Linked DNA regions of Homo sapiens: region 1 is linked to region 2. The links are contacts of gene promoters, found by promoter capture Hi-C in blood cells and fetal thymus (Javierre and others, 2016). All regions are on one chromosome and are shown on one strand. The core of a region is centred on a gene start or on the middle of the fragment in contact, and the rest is flanking DNA. Distances in the headings are between cores, read along the strand shown. Region 1 overlaps CRPPA (CDP-L-ribitol pyrophosphorylase A). Region 2 holds the start of CRPPA (CDP-L-ribitol pyrophosphorylase A).

Region 1 (7,112 bases), core at 3,896-6,395, 150 kb after region 2:
TGAGTATCTTCAATATGCCAGTCTATTTTCTTTTGTCATAAAGTGTTTTGGTCAAGTGTGATGAAAATCTGACTTTCTTTGTCTTATAAGTGATTTAGTCTATTTGCCTGGATGCTCAAATAATTCTTTTCCTTTAAAGTCCATTTGTTTTACTACAGTTTTCTTAATTATAGTCATTTTGGCTGATATTGCTAGGTACATAGTGGATGCTTCTGTGTAGTTTCGAATCTTTTTATTTGACATTATTTCTTTAGTTTTTTTCTGTTTGGTTACTTCAGTTTTCTTCAGAGATTCCTGTTGGATGAAGCTTACATGTTCTTTGGCCATCCACAGCTATTACATTCTCCTGAGTTTTTCTAATCTCTTAATTTCTTTTTAATTTTCTTACTTCCCGTCTTTTATTTCTGTTCAGTCATTACCTTTTGTGTTTTTTCTAATTTAGTCTTCATTTCTGAAATATTTTTTAAATTTTCTCGCCTTGTTTCTAAGTTATTCCAAGTCTGACTTTTATAGTTCTGTCATTTTCTTAATTTCTTTTAGCTTATTAAATATTGGGTTACAGTCTTCATTTATTTTATGACTGGGTCTTTCTGATGTGCATGGGTTTCTGTAGGTACATTATTTTGCTGTTTAGTCTTTTTTTTTCTTTCTTTCTGTCATTCATATATATATATTTTTTGTTTGTTTTTGTTTTTGTTTTTTTCCGAGACAGGGTCTTGGTACTATCATGGCTCATTGCAGCCTTGGCCTTGGCCTGCTGGGCTCAAGCGATCCTCCCATCTCATCTTCCTGAGTAGCTGGGACCACAGGCACACACTGCAATGCCCAGCTAATTTTTTTTTTCCTTTTTGTAGAGACAGGAGTCTCCACATGTTGCCCAGGCTGGTCTCAAACTCCTGGCCTCAAGTGATCCTCTCACGTTGGCCTCCCAAAGGGCGGAAATACAGGCATGACCATTGCACCTAGCCCTATTGTTCCTTTTTAAGTAGAAGAGTTTTATCTAGTTTTAGGAGGAAGGGATGAGTCAAAATAACACCTCCGTGGCCGTCCTTTGCCTGTACTTTCTCTTTCCTTTATTCCTAGTGCACCTCCCTTGGTCCATCTAGACTTCTCAGGCTGGTGCTTTAACATACTACGGTGCTTCTGTTTATTGGTTTTGAATGTGCTTTGGACCCAGACCCCCAGTTATCCCTAGCAGAGAACGTTCATGTGGCTTCCTTGTTTTCAACTTTGAATTAAAGCCTACAAAGGCTTCTCCTAGTTTCTGTTGCTATTCCCAGAATGGAATGGCCTGCTAAGGTATCCAGAAAGTATCTGATGATGATTTTGTTGTTTTCTGTCTTTCTTGGTTTACTCCCATTTTTTTCTACAGTTTCTTAAACTGTGTGTGTCTTTATATGTGCTGCCAATTTATCCCTACCCACTAATATTATTTTTTTTTAGACACTGTCTCACTCAGTTGCCCAGGCTGGAGTGCAGTGGCATGGTCTCAGCTCACCACAACCTACGCCTCCCAGGTTCAAATGATTCTCGTGCCTCAGCCTCCCAAATATTGGTTTTATAGTAGATAATGTCTATAGGTTTTTGGCTTTGATATCCTCCTTGCTTTTTCTGTTTTTATGAAGGGTCTGCAGAGATTCAAAGACTAAAATCATATTTCTAGGTTTCCAGAATCTTTCTCCCCTTTATTGTTCGTGTGCTCTCCTGGCCATTTATAATTTTTAAAGATCACTTAAATTTCTCTTTTAATTTCAAGTATCTAATTCGTCTATAAATATAGACAGACATAGCAAATTTGGAATTTTTAAAAAATTAGGTTTGGCTTGAAGTTAGGGATTTCCTTCATATAATAAAACTAAGAAGTATTCATATATTCAAAAGTAAGAAAATCACCATTCCTCAAAAATTTCTTAATTTAATATCTTCCTTTTTGGAGATAAATTAGACTTTTTATTTTTTTTTAATGAGGAGCTAATGTAGAACTTCTAAAACTGAACTTTGGGTGTCCTGTTATTTTACTCAGAGAATCTTGGTTCACCTTGAAAGGAGATATCGTTCCTGCTAAGCCTTCCCTGACTTCTAAATTTGGTTAAAAAGAATTAAAAGTTTAAAAACCTGTTATGCCACACAAACTTAAGAGAATGCTTTCTCTTAGAAACAGCCACAACAGGCCGGGTGTGGTGGCTCACGTCCGTAATCCCAGCAATTTGGGATCCGAGGTGGGCGGATCACGAAGTCAGGAGATCGAGACCATCCTGGCTAACACGGTGAAACCTGTCTCTACTAAAAATACAAAAAATTAGCTGGGCGTGGTGGTGGGCATCTGTAGTCCCAGCTACTCGGGAGGCTGAGGCAGGAGAATGTCGTGAACCCGGGAGGCAGAGGTTGCAGTGAGCCGAGATCGCGCCGCTGCACTCCAGCCTGGGCGACAGAGCGAGACTCCGTCTCAAAAACAAAACAAAACAAAAACAAAAACAAAAACAGCCACAACACTGATTATGGAGTGTCAGGAGTAGTACTGAAATGGGCAGTTCCCCTGGCCCCTTCGCAGGACTGGCTAAGGGGTTGGCTCATTTAATCAGCCCACAGCTCTCCACCTCTCATGGGACAGGGAGCATGCAGGTGAGCAGGTACAGAGGCCAGGACAAGTCCTTCTGGGCGCGATGGCAGGAATAGAACTTCATGCAGCTCCATGGCTACATCTAGCAGGGTATCCATGACCCCTGAAGCCCCAGAGGACGTGTGTTACATTGTGCTCTTTTACCTTTGCTGTCTACAAACAGCTTAAGTGTTTAACAGCTCAGTGGAGGGTAGGATGACAACCTTTTGCACCAGCCCTCTTGGTACCAGAGTTCTTGTTCGGTGTCCGGGAGGAATCAGGCTGCATCAGTTAATTGAAGGGTGGTGAATGTGGAGGATTTACTGACGAGTGGAAGTGGCTTTCAGTGGGATGCGGTGCTGGAAAGGGGATGGAGTGGAAAGGTGGTCTTCCCCTGGAGTTTGGCTATCCCCTGCTGACCTCTTCTCTGTGGTCCTACCGTCAAGCCGTCCTTCTGAAGTCCCACCTTCAAGCTGTCCCTCTGAAGTCAAACTGCTTCTCTTTGACAGCTGCTGCTTCTCTTCTGGCCCCTGCTGTTCCACTCTGCTGCCCCTCTGCCATCACTCTGCTAGTGGAGCTTGGGGTTTTTTATGGGTACAAGATGGGAGGCAGGGAGAGCCAAAAAGCAGCATTTGAGTGGGAAAACAGGAATGCATGTTCTCACTTTGGGCCACAGTACCCAGGCCTAAGGGTGTGGCCCTCACCAGGGACTGTCCTCTTCTACCCGGGATTTCCGTGTCTCCTGTTTGTATCAGTACTATGCAGTTCTTTTCTCTTTAAAATAACCCTTTGATGGGGGGAGGGGGGAGGGATAGCATTAGGAGATATACCTAATGCTAAATGACGAGTTAATGGGTGCAGCACCCCAGCATGGCACATGTATACATATGTAACTAACCTGCACATTGTGCACATGTACCCTAAAACTTAAAGTATAATAATAATAAAATAAAAAAAAAAGCGACAAAGGATATGAATAGACATTCTTTCAAACAAGATATATAAATGGAAAAAAAATAACCCTATGATTTCCCCCTTTATTTTACAAATGGAAATAGGGAAACTTGCAGTTTGATTTGCCTGAGGTCATGTCAATAGTGAATATAGATGCTAGTTGATTCAAAATGGTCTCTACTAATTAATATTCTTCTAAGGAAAGGTGAGATAAAAGACTGAGATTTTTAAGTTTGACAAAGGGCTAATACCTAATGTCTGAAAGACATCCCCTTAGGAAAGGATTTATGTAGTTTTATATACTTTTTCCCTTCCCTTATAAAGGTAAATTTATCTCATGACATTTTTCAGCTTATAACTTACAAATACAAAATGCAACGTATTCTAACATTTTCACCTCTCAAAGCTTTCATCCTACTTTGAAAGGAATGTGTAAAAAGGATGAAGTCACCACTATTGAAATCCTGGCATCTGTAGGGCAGATCAGTGTGGGTGTGGAGCTGCTCAACACATAATGGGAGGATTGTTTTGTTAACATGAAAAGAAAAAATGTTTTCCTTTGAAATTAAGGGAAAAGATTGGGTATGTTTATTGTAATTATCTGTACTAGAATTTTGCAACATACCTTACAGGTGAACCAAACATCTAACTTTAATGATACCCACCAAATACCTGGAAGAGGTTGTTAAAAAGTTAAGTAAAGAGCTAACTTGGGGAGAGGCACCTCTCCTACTCCCCCCATTCACAGGCACTTTTTACTGATTCTTAAAGGACAAGGCTTTGCTATCAGTCTTGCTATTTTCCTCCTCCGTTTTTCTCAGCAATTTGAAGTATTTCACAGACCTTACCAGCTTTGAAGATAGAGCTCTCCAGAGATAGATCAGGGTGGTAGACAGTTTTAAAGGGACCTCTCTCACTTCTTCCCAGTTTTCAGTAAATATCCAAAAATAGTTTATACTATATACTGAACTGAAGGTAGTAAGGAATTTATAAGTGGGAAGATATGATTAGTCTTTTATTCCTAAATTCTCTAGTTTATTTACCAAATAATAAATGCCTGTCATGATATAGTCACTAGATACAGGGAGTTGAACTGAGCAAGTATGATTTCCTATTTCCAAGGAGCATATTGTCCAGTTGGGGATAAAAAGTAAATGAATGCAAATTAAAATGTCAAATTGTGATGAATATTCTAAGGAAAACATAACTGTGCTTATATAAGAGAGCCAGAGAAAGTGACTTAGATTGGGAGTGGAAGGCAGTAAGTGAAATCTCTTGGCAGATGTGGTATTTAACTTAAGTCTTTAAGGGCAATAAATAATTATCTATTTAAAGAACAAACCAGAAGTAACAGTATGTGAAAGGCACATAAAGAGCTTCATTGGGGCACAGAAAGAAAGCATCTGTGGTTGGAGATGCAAATGGAGTGGAAGTGGGAGTAGCAAGAGACAAGGAAAGAGCCTTGTAGGCTTTTTATGTTGAGTTTACCACTTCTACTGTTACCGTTGCTACTATTATCATTTATATATTGTTTTAAGGGGAAAATGAAGTGAGAGAAGACTTTATTTGAAAATGACATGATCCAGTTTACCTTTACAAGAAGATTATGGTGGCTGCTCCTCTTAAAAGTACAGTTCTACAGAGGAAACCTCTGCAGTACTTGTTTTCATACATCACATTACCTCTAAATGCATATAAGCGTGTTCAACCCAATATTCATTCCTGTAATAAAAGAATGGAACTCCTAAAGAATGCTGATCTATACTCTGAACAAACAGGGACTGTAGGGGCTTTTCATGTATTTTGGTTATCCACTCCTTCCTGTTTCCTGGAGGACGTAATTTAATTATTGTTTTGAGTAATCACAAATGACAAGCAGGGTGTAACTGAAAATCACGTGTAAAGCATGCTCTGATTTTGTTGAGGCTGTTCTATGGTACTTAGTTTCTTTTTTTTTTCCCTTATGCCCTCAAGGTTGTGTCCAGTGTATGGATCCATGCCTTTTGTTATAGACCTCAGTAAATTCACCGTATGACATATTAGTCAAACAACACATCAAAACTAGCACATGCAATAAAGAAAAGCGGAGAGAACATAAACAGAGCAAATTAAGCCACAGCAGCATCCTAAGACCTATCCAAAACAGTTATTTTATGCTTATTTTGATACATATTATATTTTAGCGTGAATATACAGGATTTTCATTTGTTTGCACCTGAATACTGTATAGTTAATAACAATGAAATAACACTGGAAAGCTACTTTTTTCTCTTGCGCCTCTAACTGTGAACAGCACCACATTTATGTGTTACATGCATGTGTATACAAGAATATAGAAACTAGCCAAAAACCATCTCATTAAATCCATTTGATTTATTTGGTATGTTAGCCAGATTTCCTGAGCAATTCTCCAGAGGTGGAAAGAAACTCCAAAATGATAGACCACCTAGTTGAAGAAGATGGTATGAATTATATTGATGTTGTATTAAATAAAATTAACAATTTATATTAATAACTGATTGTCATGGTTTTAAAATATTAATTGAGGGAGCTAGGATAATTTGCTTTAAATGCTATTTTCTCTATTTTTTTCTTTGTGTATTTCACATATCTTCATCTTTTTAATTATTTATATTCTTGAAATACAGGAACCTGTTGAAATATTACTCTTCCTAAAGGAACCAGATGGTTAATCTGTAAAAATGGTCTTTTGCATCTTGTCCGCTTAGAAATGAGGTCATTGCTTACAAGTTCTGGACAACCATTATACTAAGCTTACAAAATAAAAACAGAAACCAGCCACCACCAATTTTTGGGCATGTATTCATAAAGTCAAGTCTTAGCCTTTAACTCAGGAAATTTTTTGATTTTACACATAAAGTAAATATGTTTAGAAGGAAAATCCGTACAAAAAGTTGACAAAGTTGTTTTTGTATGTAGATTATAGTTAACCTTCAACAATTGATTTTGAAGAATGTTGTATACTAAATTGCTTATGCTATTTAAATTGAGATGTAGCTTCAGAACTCAGTCATTTCACTTCATGTCATTAATTTTTTTTCTCCAGTTATAGGATACATGATGTTTGCAAAGCATCATTTTGTGCTTATGTTATCCCTAATAATTGAGTTTGGAAATGTATTTTATGTCAAGTATTTGTGTGTAGTATAATTTTACTTTACAATGCCACAGAGTAGGTTATTCTGTTGTTCTAGTAGCTTTAGCTAAACAATGGTTCCAAGGTTTTGGTGGTTCTGGGAACACTGAATCAAATATACCACTTTGAGCTTATAACCACAGTACATTATCGTGTTATCTTGTTACTGGAAAACTTCTTTCCAAGGCCTACAACTTGTGTTAAAAAAAGTTTACCTTTCTCTCTTACGTTGGCACTGTATACCTTAAATGACTATTCAGTATATGAGGGTAAAAAAAAGTCTATACAGCTTGATCCGTCATTGAAGATCTTCTGCAGTCTACACCGACGTTTTTTGTCACAATGTTATTGCTGTTGTGGCTCAACATGTCTTGAAACGATTAGTCTTCTACCTCTTTTGCA
Region 2 (7,266 bases), core at 4,767-7,266:
CAGAAATTAGAATTCATAGGCTGCCAGAAATTATGGGGATGGCCCATGGTAGAATGTTAATTTATTTCTTCTGGCTCTGATTTCAGTGGAGTTAAAGGATGAACCGTTAAGCTGTTCATTAGTACTGATGAGAAACACCCCAACTAATCTCAAGAAAGGGTACTAAAACAATAAGTGTAGCTGGGGAGGAGGGGTATGACTGGTAGTGCTAATTATATTTGAGTTAATACTAAAAAAATTAACCCACTGGAAACTAAAATTTTCTAATAAAAGAAATCTCTAAGACAAGTATTCCAGAGAGGTATACTAACATGTAAAGACAAACAAACAAACAAAAAAGTAAGTTTTGGGTATTTCAGATATAAAGATGAGAGCCACTTCCATTTATTGTGCACTTCTGTGCATACTAAAAAGTAAAGACAACGGCAGGAACTAATAAGTGATTATAGCAGTGCTGTAGGATCCAAGGTTAATACAAAAAAGTCAGTCATTTTCTATATACCAGTAATGAACAAGTGGAATTTGAAATTAAAAACACAGTATTATTTACATTAACCCCCCCATGAAATCCTTAGGTGTACATTTAAGACAACATGTACAAGATCCATATGAGAAAAAGTACAAAACTGATGAAAGATATCACAAAAGAACTAAGTAAAGATGTTCCATGTTTGTGGGTAGAAAGACTCAATGTTGTCAAGATGTCAGTTCTTCCAAAATTAATCTATAAATTCAATGCAATCCCAATCAAAATACCAGCAAGTTATTTTGTGGACATTGACAAACTGATTTTTAAGTTTATATGGAGAGGCAAGAGACCCAGAATAGCCAACACGATATTGAAGAAGAACAAAGTTGGAAGACAGACACTACTGGATCTCAAGACATATAAAAAGCTACAGTAATCAGGACAGTGTGGTATTGACTAAAGGATGTACAAATGAATCAATGGAACATTATAAAGAAACCAGAATTAGACTCAAATAAATACAGTCAACTGATCTTTGACAAAGGAGCAAAGGCAACAAAATGAAGCGAAGACAGTCTTTTCAACAAATGTTGCTGCAACAACTGCATATCTACATGCAAAAACAACAAATAATCTAGACAAACCTTATACCCTTTACAAAATTAACTCAAAACTCACTGACCTAAATGAATCACCGACCTAAAAAAACCCACAAAACTATAAAACTCCTAATAGATAGCATAGCAGAAAACCTAGGTGATCATTTTTTAAAAGCACCACCAAAGGCATGATCCATGAAAAACAATTGATAAGCTGGACTTCATTATCACTAAAAATTTCTGCTCTGCAAAAGACACTGTTGAGAATAAGAAGACAAGCCACAGAGAAAATATTTGCCAAAGTAATATCAGATAAAAAATTGTTCTTCAAAATAAACAAAGAACTCTCAAAACTGAACAATAAAAACACAAATGACCCAACTAAAAAGTGGGCCAAAGACTCTGACACCTCACCAAATATGATACACATGACAAATACGCATATGAACAATGCTCAACATCATATGTCATCAAATAAATACAAATTAAATCAACACTGAGATACCACTACACACCTATTAGAATGGCCAACATCCAGAACACTGACACACCAAATGCTGGTGAGGATGTGAAGCAACAGAAACTCTCATTCATTGCTGGTGGGAATGCAAAATGGTATACCTATTTTGGAGGACCGTTTGGCCGTTTCTTACAAAACTGACCATACTTTTGCCCGTGCAATTCAGCAATCTTTCTCCTTGGTATTTACCCAAAGGAATTGAAAATTTTTGTACACATAAAAACCTGCACAGAGGAACAGAAAACCAAACACCGCATGTTCTCACTTATAAGTGAGAGCTGAATAATCAGAACACGGGGAGGGGAACCACACCGGGACCTGTAGGGAGATGGGGAGTGGGGAGGGAGAACATTAGGAAAAATAGCTAATGCATGCTGGGTTTAATACCTAGGTCAAGGGTTGATAGGTACAGCAAACCACCATGGCATACGTTTACCTTTGTAACAAACCTGCACATCCTGCACATGTACCCCAGAACTTAAAATAAAATTAAAAAAAACCCTACACAGAGATGTTTATTACAGCTTAATCATAATTGCCAAAACTTGGAAGCAAACAAGATGTCTTTCAGTAGGTGAGTGAATAAATACATCACAGTACATCCAGAAAAAAAAAAAAAATCAGTGTTAAAGAGAAAGAAGCTGTCAAGCCATGAAAAGATATGGAGAAAACTTAAATGCATATTACTAAGTGAAAGAAGCCAATCTGAAAAGAATACTGTATGGTTCCAACTATATGATGTTCTGGAAAAGGCAAAAGCATGGAGGCAGTAAAAAGATAATTGGATGCCAGGGATTGGGCAGGGATTAGAGGAGAGGAAGGCATGAATAGACAGAGGATAGAGGATTTTAGGGCAGTGAAATTACTCTGCATGATACTGTAATGGTGGATACACATCACTGTAAATTTATCAATCCTATAGAATGAATGTACAACACCAAGTGTGAACTCTAACGTAAACTAGGGACTGTGGGTTATAATGATGTGTCACTGTAGGTTCATCAGTTGTAACCAATGTACCACTCTGGTGGGAGATGTTAATAATGTGGGAGGCTATGTATGTGTGGGGCAGGGAGCTATTGGAAATTTTTGTACCTTTCTCTCAATTTTGCTGTGAACCTAAAACTACACTTAGTCTACTTTAAAAAATTAAAGGCATGCCAAAGCCAGGTTATGAAATCGTGGTATACATTTAACAAAGTTATGCTTTAAACATTTATAATACATTTTTAAATTCACAAGACAAAGGATTTATTTTAAAAGTCAATACTGGGGTTCTAGTAACGAGACATAAAGTTGAATGAACAGTGCCTTATTTTTTCAATCATATTACTGCATTTCTAACTACGTATAACTTCATTTGCAGATTATAGTCCAAATGAGAATCTTCCTCAGTGTGAAGCCTGTATTAGTTTCCTCTTGCTGCTATAATAAATTACCACAGATTTAGCAGCTTAAAACAACTCAAGTATGTTATCTTACAGTTCTGGATATCAGAAATCTGAAAATGGGGTGGCAGGGCTATATTATTCTGCAGGCTCTAAGAGAAAAACCTGTTTCCTTGCCTTTTCCAGCTTTTAGAGGTTGCCTACATTCCCACCCCTCTGCACTCTGATGGCTGCTTCCATCCTCATACCTCCTTCTCTAACTCTGACCTCTCTCCTATAAGGATGCCAGAGATTACACAGGGCCCACCTGGATAATCCAGGCTACTCCCCTCCATCTTGAGATCCTTCACTTAATCACATCTGCAATGTCTCTTTAGCAGTGTAAGGTAACATATTCATAGCTTCTGGAGATAAGAGCATGGGCATCTTTGGGGAGTCATTATTTTGCCTACTTGGAAGCTCAAAATGGAAACCACTCCAGGAACTTCCAACTCTGCATGCTCTGCCTCATGATTCAGTTGGGGTTTATTTTTTCTAAACTCTTCAAGTGATATCTTAGAATTGTTATTACCAATGGGTCCCAGAGGAGTTCACTTTTCAGGGTATGTACTTTCACATGCCTGATGCAGAGAAGATATTCTCATATTGTGGCTGCTATAACTTGGTATTAAGTAACAAGGAAGCTACATCTGTTACCCCAAAGTATGCAAAACATGGAACTAATTATATTTATATAAAAAGGACAGAGAGAAAAATGTTGCTTCATACTACGTATATGAATGAATACTTTAATGTGCCCTTTTTTCTCTACAAGTTGGTCTGCTAGACATTGTTAATATACAGTATATAAGATCTAAGGATCTAAGGATTCATGGAAGATCTAAATTGATATATCTGCTCTAAGAACAAAACTAAGATTCTAGTTAAAATTTGTCAATGTTTAATTATATAAAATTATTCTATAGCAATTAGTATAACAAGAGCTTTATTACTCTACTTTTCTTCACTCAAGATTAAGTAAAGGAAGAATACCTTTATAACAACTCCACCTTTAGATTAAAAAGGGAGGTTTAAAGATCAATATTAATAGAAATACTAATTCGATTTGCCTTCCTGCTCTCATAGATAGACTCATTTATTTATCCACCCAGTTAGTCAACAGATATTTAAATGCTTGATACAGGTGTGGTAGTGGCGCTATGAAGTCAAGTATTGTGCCAAACTTGTTTAATATAGTTGCTGCCTGGGCATCCATTTTTAGGCCTGATATAAGCTGTTTGAAACCCAGTTGTATCACGTCACCTGTGGCCTACTTAAAACTTCCCCTCCCTGTGATATAGAACACTTATTCCTCATTCCATGACCAAAAACCCAACAGCTGCTAACCATGATAAAACCCAATGGTCAACACCAGAGTCAAGTTCTCCCTTTGCTGGTGTTTTCTTTAAACTAGTCAATCCACAACCCCCTCTGGAAAGCCTAAGGGATAAAGCCTTTGGACCTTAACACAGCCCCACAGGTCCTCTCTCTTGCACCCCACCTGCTGGTTGGGAGTCCTGTTATCTCCAGACTTCCATCAGGCTTATTCTCTGGTGAATCTGTAAGTAATAAAATGCGCCTGTTATTTCACATGTTTTGTGTGCTGCCTCCTCTGGCGTCTCACCTGCACACCAGAACCTAGCTTTCCTCTCTGGGCCAGGGCTCTCCTGAAGAGTGGCTGTTCTGGCTTATGGCCACTCGTAAGAGAGAGACCTCGAGATCAAATTAGAAAGGAACGATAGCAATAAAAATTACAAGGAAGTATATTATGGCACCCACTTTTCAGTTAAGAAACCAACTAGCACAGGACCTAAATGCTAATTATAATAAAAGTAACAAAAGTGAAAGAATGCCTTCAATAAGACTAAACAAAAAGGAAAAGCAGAAAACATATTTTTATATGCTCTCAAGAAAACAGGTAAAAATAAAAATTGTAATACTACAACTAGATAACATTTCCAGTGTTTAAAAAGATTATTTTTTATTAATCATAAGCCACTGGATTAAGACTGAATTACTGATGATTATACACTTTAATGATCATTAATCTATTTAATCAGCAATTCATTCAATACATATTAAGCTTGTGTTACATTCCAGGAGCTGGGCACACACACACAACCCAAGCCAAAAGAAAAATGTTGCTGCTTGCATGGAGTTTACATTCCAGGGACCTAATACAATAGTGCTCTCCTCCAAATTCTCACTATACTTTCATGGTAAACCTCACCAGCAACAAGAGTACTAAATAAGGTAAGATATGCTTTAGGCCTGGAATTCTTCAACTTTGGCCTACTTCTGTATGAGGGCCTTAAGGCTCCTCTGCCATTAGTTGTGCAATCTTACATAAATTAACCATTTTAACGTCTTTTCCCCTTTGTAAAAAGGGAAATGGCAATAGTTGAGTTCTTCTGGGGACTAAATGACATAAGGTGTATCGATTGTTCAGCAATTAGTATTGCTTTGACCCTATGGTTCCAAAACATGCCTGCTCATCAGAATCACCCGAGGATCTTTAAAAACATTCCAAAGTCCGGTGCTCACCAGACCAATTAAATCCCAATCTCTGAGCGTGTCAGGACACGCTCCCCAGGTGGTTCCAAAGTGCAGACAAGTTTGAGAGCCACCACAGTTTGGATTATTGATGTGCCACAATAACACTTGCTAATCCATCTGTCTTTACCCCAGGTGGAACCAGGAAGCCTCCAGAGCTTAATGGAATTCAGATAATCGAGGTGCATACGCACCCTACGTCCCATCCTGTGACTTGAATCCCAATCTCTTCCGAAATTTTAAAGCAGGGAGGGATGGGACAGAGGCCTGACCTCTCCTGCATACTCATGGCCCTTGAGTATCTGCGATCTTTAGATATGTAGGGCGTTCTGACATTTCCACTTGCGGCGACAGCTGGGCCTGCCCGGGGGAAGCGCAGAGCGGGCAAGTCAGCCCTCCCGCAGGCGCTGGGACCGGGTGCGGAGGCCGCAGCCGAGCCGCGAGGGCAGATCGGCAGCCTCAGCTGCTGCCGTAGCTGTCGGGATCGTCCCCTGCGGGGCAGCAACAGCGGGGCTCCGACGGCTGAGGGGGGCGCCTTCTGCTTGCGCGCTCTGCGTCCCTCTCCGTGGTCTGCCCTTCGCCCCGCGACCCCGGCCGAGGGTGGGAGCAGCGCGGGGTCGCATCGGCCCGAGGCTAGCGGGGCTCGCCGTTCCGCCCGCAGCCATGGAGGCCGGGCCGCCGGGCAGCGCCAGGCCGGCGGAGCCGGGTCCTTGCCTGAGTGGTCAGCGCGGCGCGGACCACACGGCTTCCGCCTCCCTGCAGAGCGTGGCCGGGACCGAGCCCGGGCGCCACCCGCAAGCCGTGGCAGCTGTGTTGCCTGCCGGGGGGTGCGGGGAGAGGATGGGGGTCCCCACCCCGAAGCAATTCTGCCCCATCCTGGAGAGGCCGCTCATCAGCTACACCCTACAGGCCCTGGAGAGGTAATGCGGCGCCGGGCGCGCCCCGCGGTTCCCTGGGGCCCGGCCTCCCGCTCCCCGCCCTGCCGCTGCTCTAGCGCTAGCACCTTCACTTGGGGGACTGCCGGGCCGCGCTCAGTTATTCAAGCTTGAGCTCTGTTCCCTCCCGCATTTCAGAGATGGGAAGTTCTGGCCTTTAACAGATGGGCACGAAAGCTGCAGCTCCCCCACAGAGCCCTTTACGTCCCCAAGCAGATGAGGTTGTGGGGAAGGCCCGTCGTGTGGCGCCGATTAGAGAGTGCATGGGTTGGGACTAGGCGATTTGGGGTTCTAGCTGTGGGGCCTGAGGAGAAGCTGTGCGGATAGTCTCGCGGTCCTGGGGCTCTGCCTCCGCGCATGCGTGGATTGAGTTGTACGTGCACACTGAAGTTTCCAGGGCGTGTGTTCGTTTTTTTCATTCATTTACTGAGCACCTTCTGTGAGACAGGCTGCGCTAATTACTAGGTGCTGCAGGAGGGGAGAGGAGCAGAATTTAATAACCTTTCAATGGTGGAAAGGGCTTTAAGCCTGAATTTGAGGTCATACCCCCTTTATCTTAGAAAGGGCACTGAAGTTAACTAGTTGGGGAAATGAAGGAGACAGGGAATGGGATAAGGAGGACTAGGGGAACAGTCGTGAGGAGCTGAGGAAGTGAAATGAAGGGGTATGTTATAATATTAACTTACTTTGCTTTTAGCACTGAGTAATGAGGTGGAGCTTGGGGCGAGGGTGCAGGGGTGGGAAGCAGCGGCATTACAAATAT

Evidence for each region. The method cuts DNA at HindIII sites, captures the fragments that hold promoters and counts their contacts. A CHiCAGO score of 5 or more calls a contact.
Region 1: a fragment that was not itself captured here is called in contact with the fragment with the promoter of CRPPA in region 2 in 1 of 17 cell types (erythroblasts); the score reaches 5.6 in erythroblasts.

What each region holds. Positions count from the first base shown.
Region 1 is chr7:16,269,404-16,276,515 of GRCh38, reverse strand. The region is part of intron 6 of CRPPA (CDP-L-ribitol pyrophosphorylase A); the gene reads left to right. CRPPA-AS1 (CRPPA antisense RNA 1) reads right to left here. Exons shown (of 5, transcript NR_038947.1): 5 at 5,912-7,112. Among named protein-coding and RNA genes, the nearest start is that of CRPPA-AS1, 62 kb to the right of the region's middle. The HindIII fragment of the contact is 2,368 bases long and covers 3,962-6,329 here.
Region 2 is chr7:16,420,288-16,427,553 of GRCh38, reverse strand. CRPPA (CDP-L-ribitol pyrophosphorylase A) reads left to right here and starts at 6,016. Exons shown (of 10, transcript NM_001101426.4): 1 at 6,016-6,488. The coding sequence starts at 6,232. It overlaps LOC105375168 (a long non-coding RNA gene), which reads right to left and starts at 6,868. Exons shown (of 5, transcript XR_007060223.1): 1 at 6,572-6,868; 2 at 4,517-4,574. RefSeq lists silencers at 6,206-6,345, 6,366-6,425. The HindIII fragment of the contact is 1,514 bases long and covers 5,101-6,614 here.